3 separate regions of the Homo sapiens genome follow, and regions 1 and 3 are each linked to region 2. The links are contacts of gene promoters, found by promoter capture Hi-C in blood cells and fetal thymus (Javierre and others, 2016). All regions are on one chromosome and are shown on one strand. Each heading gives the region's core, a stretch centred on a gene start or on the middle of the fragment in contact. The rest is flanking DNA. Distances are from core to core; before and after follow the strand shown. Region 1 overlaps UBA2 (ubiquitin like modifier activating enzyme 2). Region 2 holds the start of LSM14A (LSM14A mRNA processing body assembly factor). Region 3 has its middle 25 kb from the start of KCTD15.

The links. The method cuts DNA at HindIII sites, captures the fragments that hold promoters and counts their contacts. A CHiCAGO score of 5 or more calls a contact.
Region 1: a fragment that was not itself captured here is called in contact with the fragment with the promoter of LSM14A in region 2 in 1 of 17 cell types (naive CD4 T cells); the score reaches 5.5 in naive CD4 T cells.
Region 3: a contact is called between a fragment that was not itself captured here and the fragment with the promoter of LSM14A in region 2, in 2 of 17 cell types (monocytes and erythroblasts). The highest score is 6.4, in monocytes.

Annotation. Positions count from the first base shown.
Region 1 is chr19:34,455,364-34,458,795 of GRCh38, reverse strand. UBA2 (ubiquitin like modifier activating enzyme 2) reads right to left here. Exons shown (of 17, transcript NM_005499.3): 13 at 1-27. Among named protein-coding and RNA genes, the nearest start is that of WTIP, 25 kb to the left of the region's middle. The HindIII fragment of the contact is 4,092 bases long and covers 1-3,432 here.
Region 2 is chr19:34,170,485-34,173,897 of GRCh38, reverse strand. It overlaps LSM14A (LSM14A mRNA processing body assembly factor), which reads right to left and starts at 1,394. Exons shown (of 10, transcript NM_015578.4): 1 at 1,135-1,394. The coding sequence starts at 1,255. The HindIII fragment of the contact is 4,496 bases long and covers 454-3,413 here.
Region 3 is chr19:33,819,909-33,823,506 of GRCh38, reverse strand. No RefSeq gene overlaps it. Among named protein-coding and RNA genes, the nearest start is that of KCTD15, 25 kb to the right of the region's middle. RefSeq lists enhancers at 2,179-3,173, 3,052-3,251. The HindIII fragment of the contact is 5,420 bases long and covers 1-3,598 here.

The DNA.
Region 1 (3,432 bases), core at 790-3,289, 280 kb before region 2:
TGGGTTTGGTTGTTTATTCAAAAAAATCTTTGGAGGAGAAATAACAGGCAGAAATCGGAAACGTGCTGTAATTTTATACGCCATACAATCTAAAATCTCGTTTACCAGATATCCAATAAAAAATGACTTAAAAATTCCCGTCCAGATGGCAAAATGGATCAGGAAAATCATGACCTTTTTAGGAACCTGGTTTTTCAACCTTCTTTTTTTTTTTTTTTTTTTTTTTTTTTTTTTTTTGAGACGGAGTCTTGCTGTCGCCCAGGCTGGAGTGCAGTGGCGCAATCTCGGCTCACTGCAGGCTCCGCCCCCTGGGGTTCACGCCATTCTCCTGCCTCAGCCTCCCGAGTAGCTGGGACTACAGGCGCCCGCCACCTCGCCCGGCTAATTTTTTGTATTTTTTTTTTAGTAGAGACGGGGTTTCACCGTGTTAGCCAGGATGGTCTCGATCTCCTGACCTCGTGATCCGCCCGCCTCGGCCTCCCAAAGTGCTGGGATTACAGGCGTGAGCCACCGCGCCCGGCCTCAACCTTCTTTTCTAATCAGCTAAAGGCTAGGCTAGCTAGGCTTGCTGAAAAGACATCTCCTTGTATTATATAAGACTCCGCGTTCTTCTGCAACCTGATTTGGCAAGAGTAAGGGCACAGGCATGTTAATCTGTGGTGCCATCATTGTATCAGCAGCTGGTGTCCCTCCCTGAGGCTATTCTTATCAAGCAAGCAATCTCCTGACAAGACCAACACATTAATTTCTCCAGTTAACGATAGTGCCTTTCACAGTTGTCTAGAATCAACATCACTGCCTTCCCAAATTTTCTGATTAGAATAACATTTATATAATGAGGGAAAAAAATGTATTTCTGGCAGTATATGTACCTATTTACCATTTCTCTAATACTAAACAAAAAAATAATTAAGAACCAAGGCAAATATACAAATTACACTGAAATTAAGAAAAGCTCCAAGCTCCTGCTTCTACTAAAGTTTAGAAAACACTAGCAAGATCCAACAGAAACAACAAATGTCAGAAGACAAGAAGCTGAGACACAAACCTTTATCTTGTGACTACAATGTAGTGTTGAGTCTGCTAAGAGGAATGAATTCTAAAGGAGTACTCTACGGATTCCCCTGAGAATACAGAACTAAATCCCTCAAGAGACACTAAAGCCGTCCTCTGTAAAATAGCTTCTCCGTACAATGAATACTGGTAGGTGGAAGGGCTAGAAGCAAACTGCCCAGGCCAAGCAGGCTACAGAGGGAGAAAGATTTGTTTGATTTTGGGCTTCACCGGGAAGGTAAGTGTGCTAAGGGAAACTGACAATAATAAAAGCAATTGCTACCACTATTAATACCTGGGCTAACATTAATCCAGGCTGGAATTCATTTGCAAATGTAAAAAAATGAAATCCAGATATATTACTATATTTTTTCTTGAGGCAGAGTTTCGCTCTTGTTGCCAGGCTGGAGTGCAATGGCGCGATCTCGGCTTAATGCAACTTCCGCCTCCCAGGTTCAAGTGATTCTCCTGCCTCAGCCTCCTGAGTAGCTGGGATTACAAACATGCACCACCATGCCCAGCTAATTTTATATATATATATATATATATATATATATATATATTTTTTTTTTTTTTAGTAGAGACCAGGTTTCTCCACGTTAGTCAGGCTAGTCTCGAACTTCCAATCTCAGGTGATCTGCCTGCCTCGGCCTCCCAAAGAGCTGGGATTACACGTGTGAGCCATCGTGCCCGGCCAGATATATTACTATTAATAGTCCAAGAGTGGCATGGAGCTAAGCAGGCAAAGAAACCGGAAGGATGTGATGGGAAATAACAGACATTTTAATAAGTTCAGTAATTAGTACTGTTGGTGAGCTCAAAGGGATACTACAGCTTCAGGCTGCTATAAAAAATTTTTTTTAAATAATTTAAAAACTGGGTATCGGCCAGGAACGGTGGCTCACTCCTGTAATTCTAGCACTTTGGGAGGCCAAGGTGGGCAGATCACCTGAGGTCAGGAGTTCATGACCAGCCTGGCTAACATGGTAAAACCCTGTCTCTCCTAAAACTACAAAAATTAGCCAGGCGTGGTGGCACCCGCCTGTAATCCCAGCTACTGGGGAGGCTGAGGCAGGAGAATCACTTCTACTTGGGAGGTGGAGGTTGCAGTGAGCTGAGATCGCGCCACTGCACTCTAGCCTGGGTGACAGAGCAAGACTCCATCTCAAAAAAAAGATACCAAAAAATAAAGTTCTTAGAAATTAAAAATATAACATATACAATAAAAGTTTAAATAGAAAACTAAATCAAGATGGCAGACTGGGCAATTTGATTCTGTTCCTTCAAACTGAAATTTCATGAAAATAAAATATTTTAAGAGTGCATCGAGGCTGGGCGCAATAGCTCACGCCTGAAATCCCAGTACTCTGGGAGGCTGAGAAGGGCGGATCACTTCAGGCCAGGAGTTTGAGACCAATCTGGGCAACAGGTGAAACACCGTCTCTACTAATAATACAAAAATTAGCCAGGTGTGGTGGCATGTGCCAGTAATCCCAGCTACTTGAGAGGCTGAGGCAGGAGAATCGCTAGAACCCAGCAGGTGGAGGTTGCAGTGAGCCGAGATCACATCACTGTACTCCACTGTACTCCAGCCTGGGTGAGAGCAAGATTCCACCTCAAAAAAAAAAAAAAAAAAGAAAAAGAAAAGGAAAAAAAGAGCGCATCGGGCCAAGTGCAGTGGCTCACACCTGTAATCCCAGCACTTTGGGGGGCCAAGGTGGGAGGACTGCTTGAGCCCAGGAGTTCAGGACCAACCCGGACAACATAGCAAGACCCCATCAGTTTAAAAAAAAAAGGCCGGGCGCAGTGGCTCATGCCTGTATGCCTGTAATCCCAGCACTTTGGGAGGCCGAGGTGGGCGGATCATGAGGTCAGGAGTTCGAGACCAGCCTAACCAACATAGTGAAACCCGTCTCTACTAAAAATACAAAAATTAGCCGGCATGGTGGCATGCACCTGTAATCCTAGCTACTGAGGAGGCTGAGACAGGAGAATCGCTTGATCCTGGGAGGTGGAGGTTGCAGTGAGCCAAGATTGTGCCACTGCACTCCAGCCTGGGCAACAGAGCTAGACTCCGTCTCAAAAGATAAAAAAAAGTAAGTGTGCATCAATGACACTGCAAAATAACAGTACCATTGCAAACTAGATATTTTTTGAAATTTCTGAAGGTAAACAGGTCTTTTTATTTCAATGATAAAAAGGAGAACCTAAACAACAGTCAAAGTATTGGCTAGTATTTCCTAGGAAGCCTTCTTGAGCTGGTAAGAAAGCGAAGTGTCTGCAGACACAACATCGAAGGAAGGAATCCAAAGAGAACATCCAAGTAGTGTTAGCCTTAAGAGATACACCTACCCCACCCACCACTAAGGTAGGAACTCT
Region 2 (3,413 bases), core at 145-2,644:
TTGATCCCGTGAAACCACTCCCCTATCTGTTAACGATTTTTAAAATTTTACAGATTTCGAAAATCTTCTTCTTTATCCTTGGACCTAACCTATCCACAGGGTCCCTAACCATGCTATGCAGTTCCCACCTCTACCAGAAGTGCTGGGAAAATCACCTAGGTTATCTAGCTTCCCTCAAAGTATTTTACACTGTTGTGAGATTTCCTTTAAGATTCAGGAGCTAAAGTTTATTTTCTTTCTGGTTTCCTGGCGGAGCAAAGGCCCTGCACGTGTGAACGGAAACAAAACCCACACAGACTCTAGGGATGCCAAATATTAACACTGTGGGTAGGGGCACCTTCCTTCTCGGCCGAATTCCCTTTCCCAGAGAGCCTCCAGAGGGATCAGTCAACGCCCACTGAGCCTGGATCAAAGGTCAAGCTTGCCTGGTCAAGAAGGATCCTGGATCAAGCTTGAACCCGTTTCCAGAAACAGGGGCGTCGGGGCAGCAGCAAGCATTTTTACCACGCGCCCTAATGAGGTGGTTGCACAACAGGCTTTGAGGATTCCGGTTTAACAGGTAAATACCAACAGAGGATGAGCCGAGGGAGATGGGATCTGCTCCACGGCATCGATGGCATTTCGAGAATGTCTGCGTCGCAGAGCAAACCCAAAGTTTTAGCACATTACTCAAGAGTTCACCAGAGGAAGATCGCCACGAATTGAAATGAACAAAGTGAGAAAATGGGTGCTGTGTAGTCAACGCATCCGCGATGAACTCAAGCTGGGCGGAAAAATTCTTTGAATACTCCGGCTTTGTTTTGTGCTAAGACGGCAGAAGCCCCGAATTTCGGAGTTGGAAGACGCGTTTCTCCGTGTTCTCCGGCCCGTTCTCGGACTTCAGGGCCGCCCGCCGCGCACTCAGTCCCGTAGTTCCCCGGGCTTCAGGCGCGGACATTCCGGGGGGCGGAAACCAGGGAGCCGCGGGGAGGCCGCGGTCCGGCCCGCGACGCCGGGGCCCGGAGAAGGGAGGCGAGAGGCCTCCCGGAGCTCGACGGAGGGAGGGGAGGGAACGAGGAGGCCGCGGGCCGGAGCGGGGAGCAGCCCCGAGCGGCGCCCGGCTCGGCCCCCACCCTGAGGCCCGGTCCCGCGTACCTTTGGCAAGGGCTACGGTGGAGTTTTCGGTGTCGATGGTGTAGAGGATGCCCTCGTAGCGGATCTCCGCCTTGGAGATGAGGCTGATCTTGCTGCCGATGTAAGGGGTGCCCCCGCTCATGGCGCCGCCGCCGCCGCTCCCAGCTGCTCGCAGAGAGGCAGATCCCACGCCACTGTCGCCCGCTCCGCACGCCCGCTCGCTCCGTCGGCGCCTACAGCAGCCGCTTCAGACCCAACATGGCGGCGGCGCCGGCTCCGCTACCCTCCCCCAGCCTCCCGCCCTCAAGCCGCGGCGCGGCGGCGGCGGCGGCGGCGGCAGCGGCGGCGGCGCGGGGCATGCTGGGAGGGCGAGGCCGCGCTCTCGCGAGACTTGGCCGGCTACTGGTGGCTCCCGGCTCATTCGTGGCCTCGGGAGTCCCGGCAGCGCTTGTTGGCCTGGACTACGGTGGTGGTCTTGGGGCCGCGTGAGAGGAACTTCGGGGACCGGCTGAGTGCCTCGTGGCACCCGCTTGCTGCGGGCTGGAGAGGAGGCGCGCGGCCTTCCTTTTGACTCAGGCCGTGGCCGCCTTGTCGTGGGTCCTGTGTCTTTGCCGACGCGGGGCCCTCGGCCTGGAGCGCTGCCCACCCGCCTCCGAGCTGTGGCGAGCCGCTGCTCATCCTTCTAAGACGCTGAACCTGCACCTCGTGGAGCTCCTACGGCTCCATTACCGCAGTCATCGCCCGGGGAGCTTCCCCCGAGGCTGCCCCTGGAGCTGGGGCTCTCACAAGGACTCAAGTGTTTCAGCCCCTTCCTGTCCCGCTCATTCAGCCGGTCTGAACCAGTTTCATGGCTTGCAACGCCATTGTAACTCACTAATCCCAATTATCAGTATGTAGCTTGGATCAATTCCGTGAACCAGGGTTTCTGTCGAATCTCAAACGTTAAGGGTCCAAAGCCATGCTCCCTGTTTCCCCTCTAACCTGCTCCTTCACCACCGTTCCCTATTTGATGTAAACGGTACCATTTTTACTCAGCTGCTCAGACTAAAAGCCGTGAGTCAGCCTTGCCCTGTCTTGCTTCCACATCTGTTCTGACTACACCTCTCCGTTATGTATACACAATATATCCTAAATCTGACTTCTCATCTCCATTCCTACACTTCTCCCACAAGCCACGATTACTCGGGCTGAATTATTGCAGTAGCCTTCTAAAAGTTGCCTCTGTGTCAACTCTTGCCCCCAGTACTTTATTCTCAATACAGCAGCCAGAGAGATCTTCTTAAAATCTAACTCAGGGCTGGGCGCAGTGGCTCACGCCTGTACTCCCAGTACTTTGGGGGCCCGAGGCGGGCGCATCACCGGTCAGGAGTTCGAGACCAGCCTGGCCAACATGGTGAAACCCCGTCTCTACTAAAAATATAAAAAAATTAGCCAGGCGTGGTGGCGCGCGCCTATAGTCTCAGCTACTTGGGAGGCTGAGGCAGGAGAATTGCTTGAACCCAGGAGGCGGAGGTTGTGGTGAGCCGAGATTGTGCCACTGCACTCCAGCCTGGGCGACAGAGCGAGACTCCGTCTCAAAAAAAAAAAAAAAAATCTAACTCAGATCATGTCCTTCCTCTACTCACTCTACTGATCCCATGTTACACAGAGAGAAAACCAGACTTTGGTGTCTAAGGATATACATGATTTAGCTTCTCGTTCTGTTCCAGTCGCGTCTAATTCAACCAGTACTTGAGCACTTTATTCCAGTCTCTGCTCAAGCATCACCTCCAGAGATGACGTCCCTGACAGCCTTGTTTAAAATAATACCACTCATCTCCTTAACTCAGCTTGTATTTTCTTTATAGCATGTATCTCTCTCAAGTATGTCTGTTTAATTATTTGTATGTATCTGTCTCCTTCACTAGAATGTAAACATTTTGAGATAGTGATGTTGTTTTGGTTGCTGCCGTATCATCAGGGGCCTAGTAACAGCACGTGGCTCAGGGCAGCTGCTCAGTTAATATTTGCTGCATGAATGAACAGCAGGATGAAGGCAGAGCACAGGCAGGACGGTGAGCTGAGTGAGCAAATGGCGAGAAGCCTGGCATCATAAGAGAGGGACACAGGAGAGAGACAGAGCTCTGATGGGGCTGGTGCACAGTGGCTACAAAGAAAGGTTTGGAAATCCCTGTTTCAGTACAAGGTCCATGCGAGGAAGTTGAATTATTTGTTTTTGTTTTTTTGAGACAGTCTCACTCTGTCACTCGGGATGGAGTGCAATGGTGCCATCTCGGCTCACTGCAACCTCTGTCTCCTCT
Region 3 (3,598 bases), core at 5-2,504, 350 kb after region 2:
CTTCCAGGCCCAGGGCAGGGGGCAGGGTAAATGGGAGATGTCCAGCATACTGTCCAAAATAGCAACACACACACTCCTATTCCCCTTCCTTGCTTTATTTTTAGCACTATTTAACCTATGACACATTTTACTTATTTTTGTTATTGGGTTTTTGTTGTTTATTTTTTGTTTTTCTTTTTTGAGACAGGGTCTTGCTCTGTCACCCAGGCTGGAGTTCAGTGGCGTGATCATAGCTCACTGCAGCTTCAACAGCCTCAAGCAATCCTCTCACTTCAGCCTCTGGATTAGCTGAGACCACAGGTGCATGCCACCACACCTGGCAAATTTTTTTTTTTTTTTTTTTTTTTTTGGAGAGATGAGGTTTCCCTATGTTGCCCAGGCTGGTCTCAAACTCCTGGGCTCAAGCGATCCTCCCACCTGGGCCTCTCAAAGTGCTGGGATTATAGGTGTGACCCACCGCACCCAGCCTTACTTTTGTTTCTTGTCCATCTCTCTTCACTGGAGTGTAAGCTCCACAAGATTGGGGCTTTTCTGTATTCATTCACTACTATATCCTAGTGCCTGAAAGAGGGCATGTGTTCAATAACAATTGTTTGAGTAGATAAAGTTGCTACCTAGATGTGGCAGGCAGAATAATGCCACCAAATATGTCCACATCCTAAACCTGGGATCTGTGAGTATCTTAGGTTATGTGGCAAAGGGGTTTAAGATTGCCAATGGAATTAAGGTGAATTAGTAGACCTTAAAATAGGGAGATTATCTGCAGGGTGGAGGGTGGGCAATGGAATCACTAGAGTCCAGAAAAACAAGGGTGAGGGGATCTAAAGATGCTACACTTCTGGTTTTGGGGATGAAGGAAGGGACCACAAGCTACAGAATGAAGGCAGCCTCTAGAAGCTGGAAAGGACAAGGAAAGATTCTCCCCTAGAGCTCCAGAAAGGAGAGCAGCTCTGTTGACACCTTGATTTTAGCCCAGTGTGACCCATGTCAGACTTCTGACATCTGGAACTGTAAGATGAAAATATATCATCTTAAAATCAGTGTTGGGCTAGGCATGGTGGCTCACACCTGTTATCCCAGCACTTTGAGAGGCCAAGGTGGGAGGATCGCTTGAGTCCAGGAGTTCAAGACCAGCCTGGGCATCATAGGGAGACCTGTCTCTACAAAAAGAAAAAGAAAAAAAAATAGTATTTTTCTAAGCCACATTAGTGGTAACTTGTCATAGCCACAAGAGGAAACCAATACACTGATCTCTGTTCTTAATCCAGGAGCACAGGCTCTGGAGCCAGTTGAGGCTGCTTTTTGGCTCTTCCTTAGGGAGAGAGCTTGCACCTTCTTTTTCTGTGTAAATGAAACTATTAAATATTGTTTCTTCCTGGGGAGGGTGGGAAGTGGGTGGTGTTAGATGTCAGGGTTTGGAGAGCTGGTGATTCATGGGACACTCACGACTCAGAGCCTGGCCTCCAGTAACCAGGCTGATTGTAGACACTCAGTAGATATTTGTGGAAGGATAAATGTATTTCATCAACTGATGTTCCATAATCGATTTCATCTCTCCTGGTTTTAGGACACTAAGGGGCCCCCTTCCTTTCTTTGCCAATAGTAAATACAATTTGAGAATCTGTGCATACAGGGGTGCTTTTGTTTTTGTTTTGAAATTAGTTTTCTGGCTGGGTGCCGTGGTTCACACCTGTAATCTCAGCACTTTGGGAAGCCAAGGAGGGTAGATCACTTGAGGTCAGGAGTTCAAGACCAGCCTGTCCAACATGGTGAAACCCCATCTGTACTAAAAACACAAAAATTCATGCTCACTTCAGCAGCACATATACTAAAAACACAAAAATTAACTAGGCGTGGTTGTGGGCGCCTGTAATCCCAGCTACTCGGGAGGCTGAGGCAGGAGAATCACTTGAACCTGGGAGGTGGAGGTTGCAGTGAGCCAAGATCACACCAATGCACTCCAGCCTGGGTGGCAGAGCAAGACTCCATCTCAAAAATAAATAAATAAATAAATAAATAAATAAATAAATAAATAAATAAAATAATTAGTCTTCTATTTCTTCAAAGCAAGAGCCTCGCCAGGCTGCAAGGCTGGTGCTCTCCACACATGTAGTGTGTATGGTAGTCAGCTGCCTTCTGTGCAGGGCTGCTCACTCACCCGGCAGCTGGGCACTCCTTGGCACAGGAGCCCCCCACGTGGCTAGCCAGGCTGGGGCTGGAAGGTGGGAGTGGAGAGGAGGCAAACTAGAGGCTGTGTGGGAAGGTGCTTTGATGAATTCCCTCCCTGGGCTGGGCTTCTACACGGGTTCCTCCACCTGGGCATGGGAACTGGGGGAGGCTAAAGGGAGGGAGAAGGAGGAGTGCCAGTGGTGGTGCCGGAAGCCTCTCCCTGATGCAAGAGAAGCCTTGAGGCCAGTTCAGCAACTCAGAGCGGTGCTGGCCAGGGCGAGAGCATCGAAACCTCCCTCCCTCCCTCCTGATGCGCGTTCAGGATCTGCAGTCCGGAGGCTGCACACCACAACCTATGCAGGGCAGTGTGGGTTTCCCCAGACGTCTGGGGAGGTGGGAGAGCCTGGGCCTTGAGAGGGCAGGGAACTGAGGAAGCAAAAAAGCAGCTGCAGCCTTCTGCAGCCCGCTCTCCAGGTGGCACCCAAGCCCACCTCTGTGCTCCTGGGAGCTTGGTGCCCCTAAAACCCTCAAGGTTGCAACTCAGAGAGGATTGGGAAGCAAAGCCAGCAGGAGAACAAAGGATGCTTTGCCGGAAAGGGAGGCACCTTCCACGAAGGCCTCCGGGGCCTGGGGAAGTGACTCACTGGGCCCGGGGATGGACCCACCCATGGGGGCTCCGCGGGCCCACAATAGACCCATAGGATAGGAAAGGCACTGTCAGCCTCCGGCCTCTGGCGGGCGCCTCCCAGCCCACCCCCGCGAGATCTGGTCTGCGTCCAGCCCGGGGCCCCTGGGGATAGGCCCTGTTCTCGTTAGGCTCTGCCAGTCGGGACCGCCACCGCCGCTGCTGCCACCTGGGGCTGTGGGCGCGGCCCCTTCCGCCAGCCCTCCCTCCCCTTGGCCCTGCGGGGACCCGGGCTCCCCAGTTCTCGGCAGAGCCACACTACTCCTCTGCCAGAGCGAGGCCATCGATGTCACCCGAAGGTGGCGTCAGGCTCTGTCCCGAGGCTCCCCGGAGGCCTGTGATGGGGACTTGGAGAGAGCCCTCGTTGCGAGCCCCGGCTTCCCGGGCAGTTGCACAACCTCCCCCAATTATGCTCCGTGCAGTGTGTGGCAACCGGGCGAGAATTCCAGGGCCTTGTACCTACTCGTACCAATCTGCCTTCCCGCTGTTTGGCTGCAGGGCCAGGCGTGGCTCTGTGGGCCCGGGGAAATGGGGGTGTGTCCGCGTCCAGGAGGGCGTGGCCCGCGTCAGCCCCGGGAGCAGCAGCCCGGCCCTGCTGGTGCAATCGGCTCGCCCCAAACCGCAGCTTCCTCGGGGGCCCTGAACCGGGTCCAGGACACAGAAAAGGGAGCTCTGGTGACATCCTAGACACGGGCTTTGAGCAGCAGGCCTGGCCCAGCTACGGCTGGTGACGCCGTCCAGCCA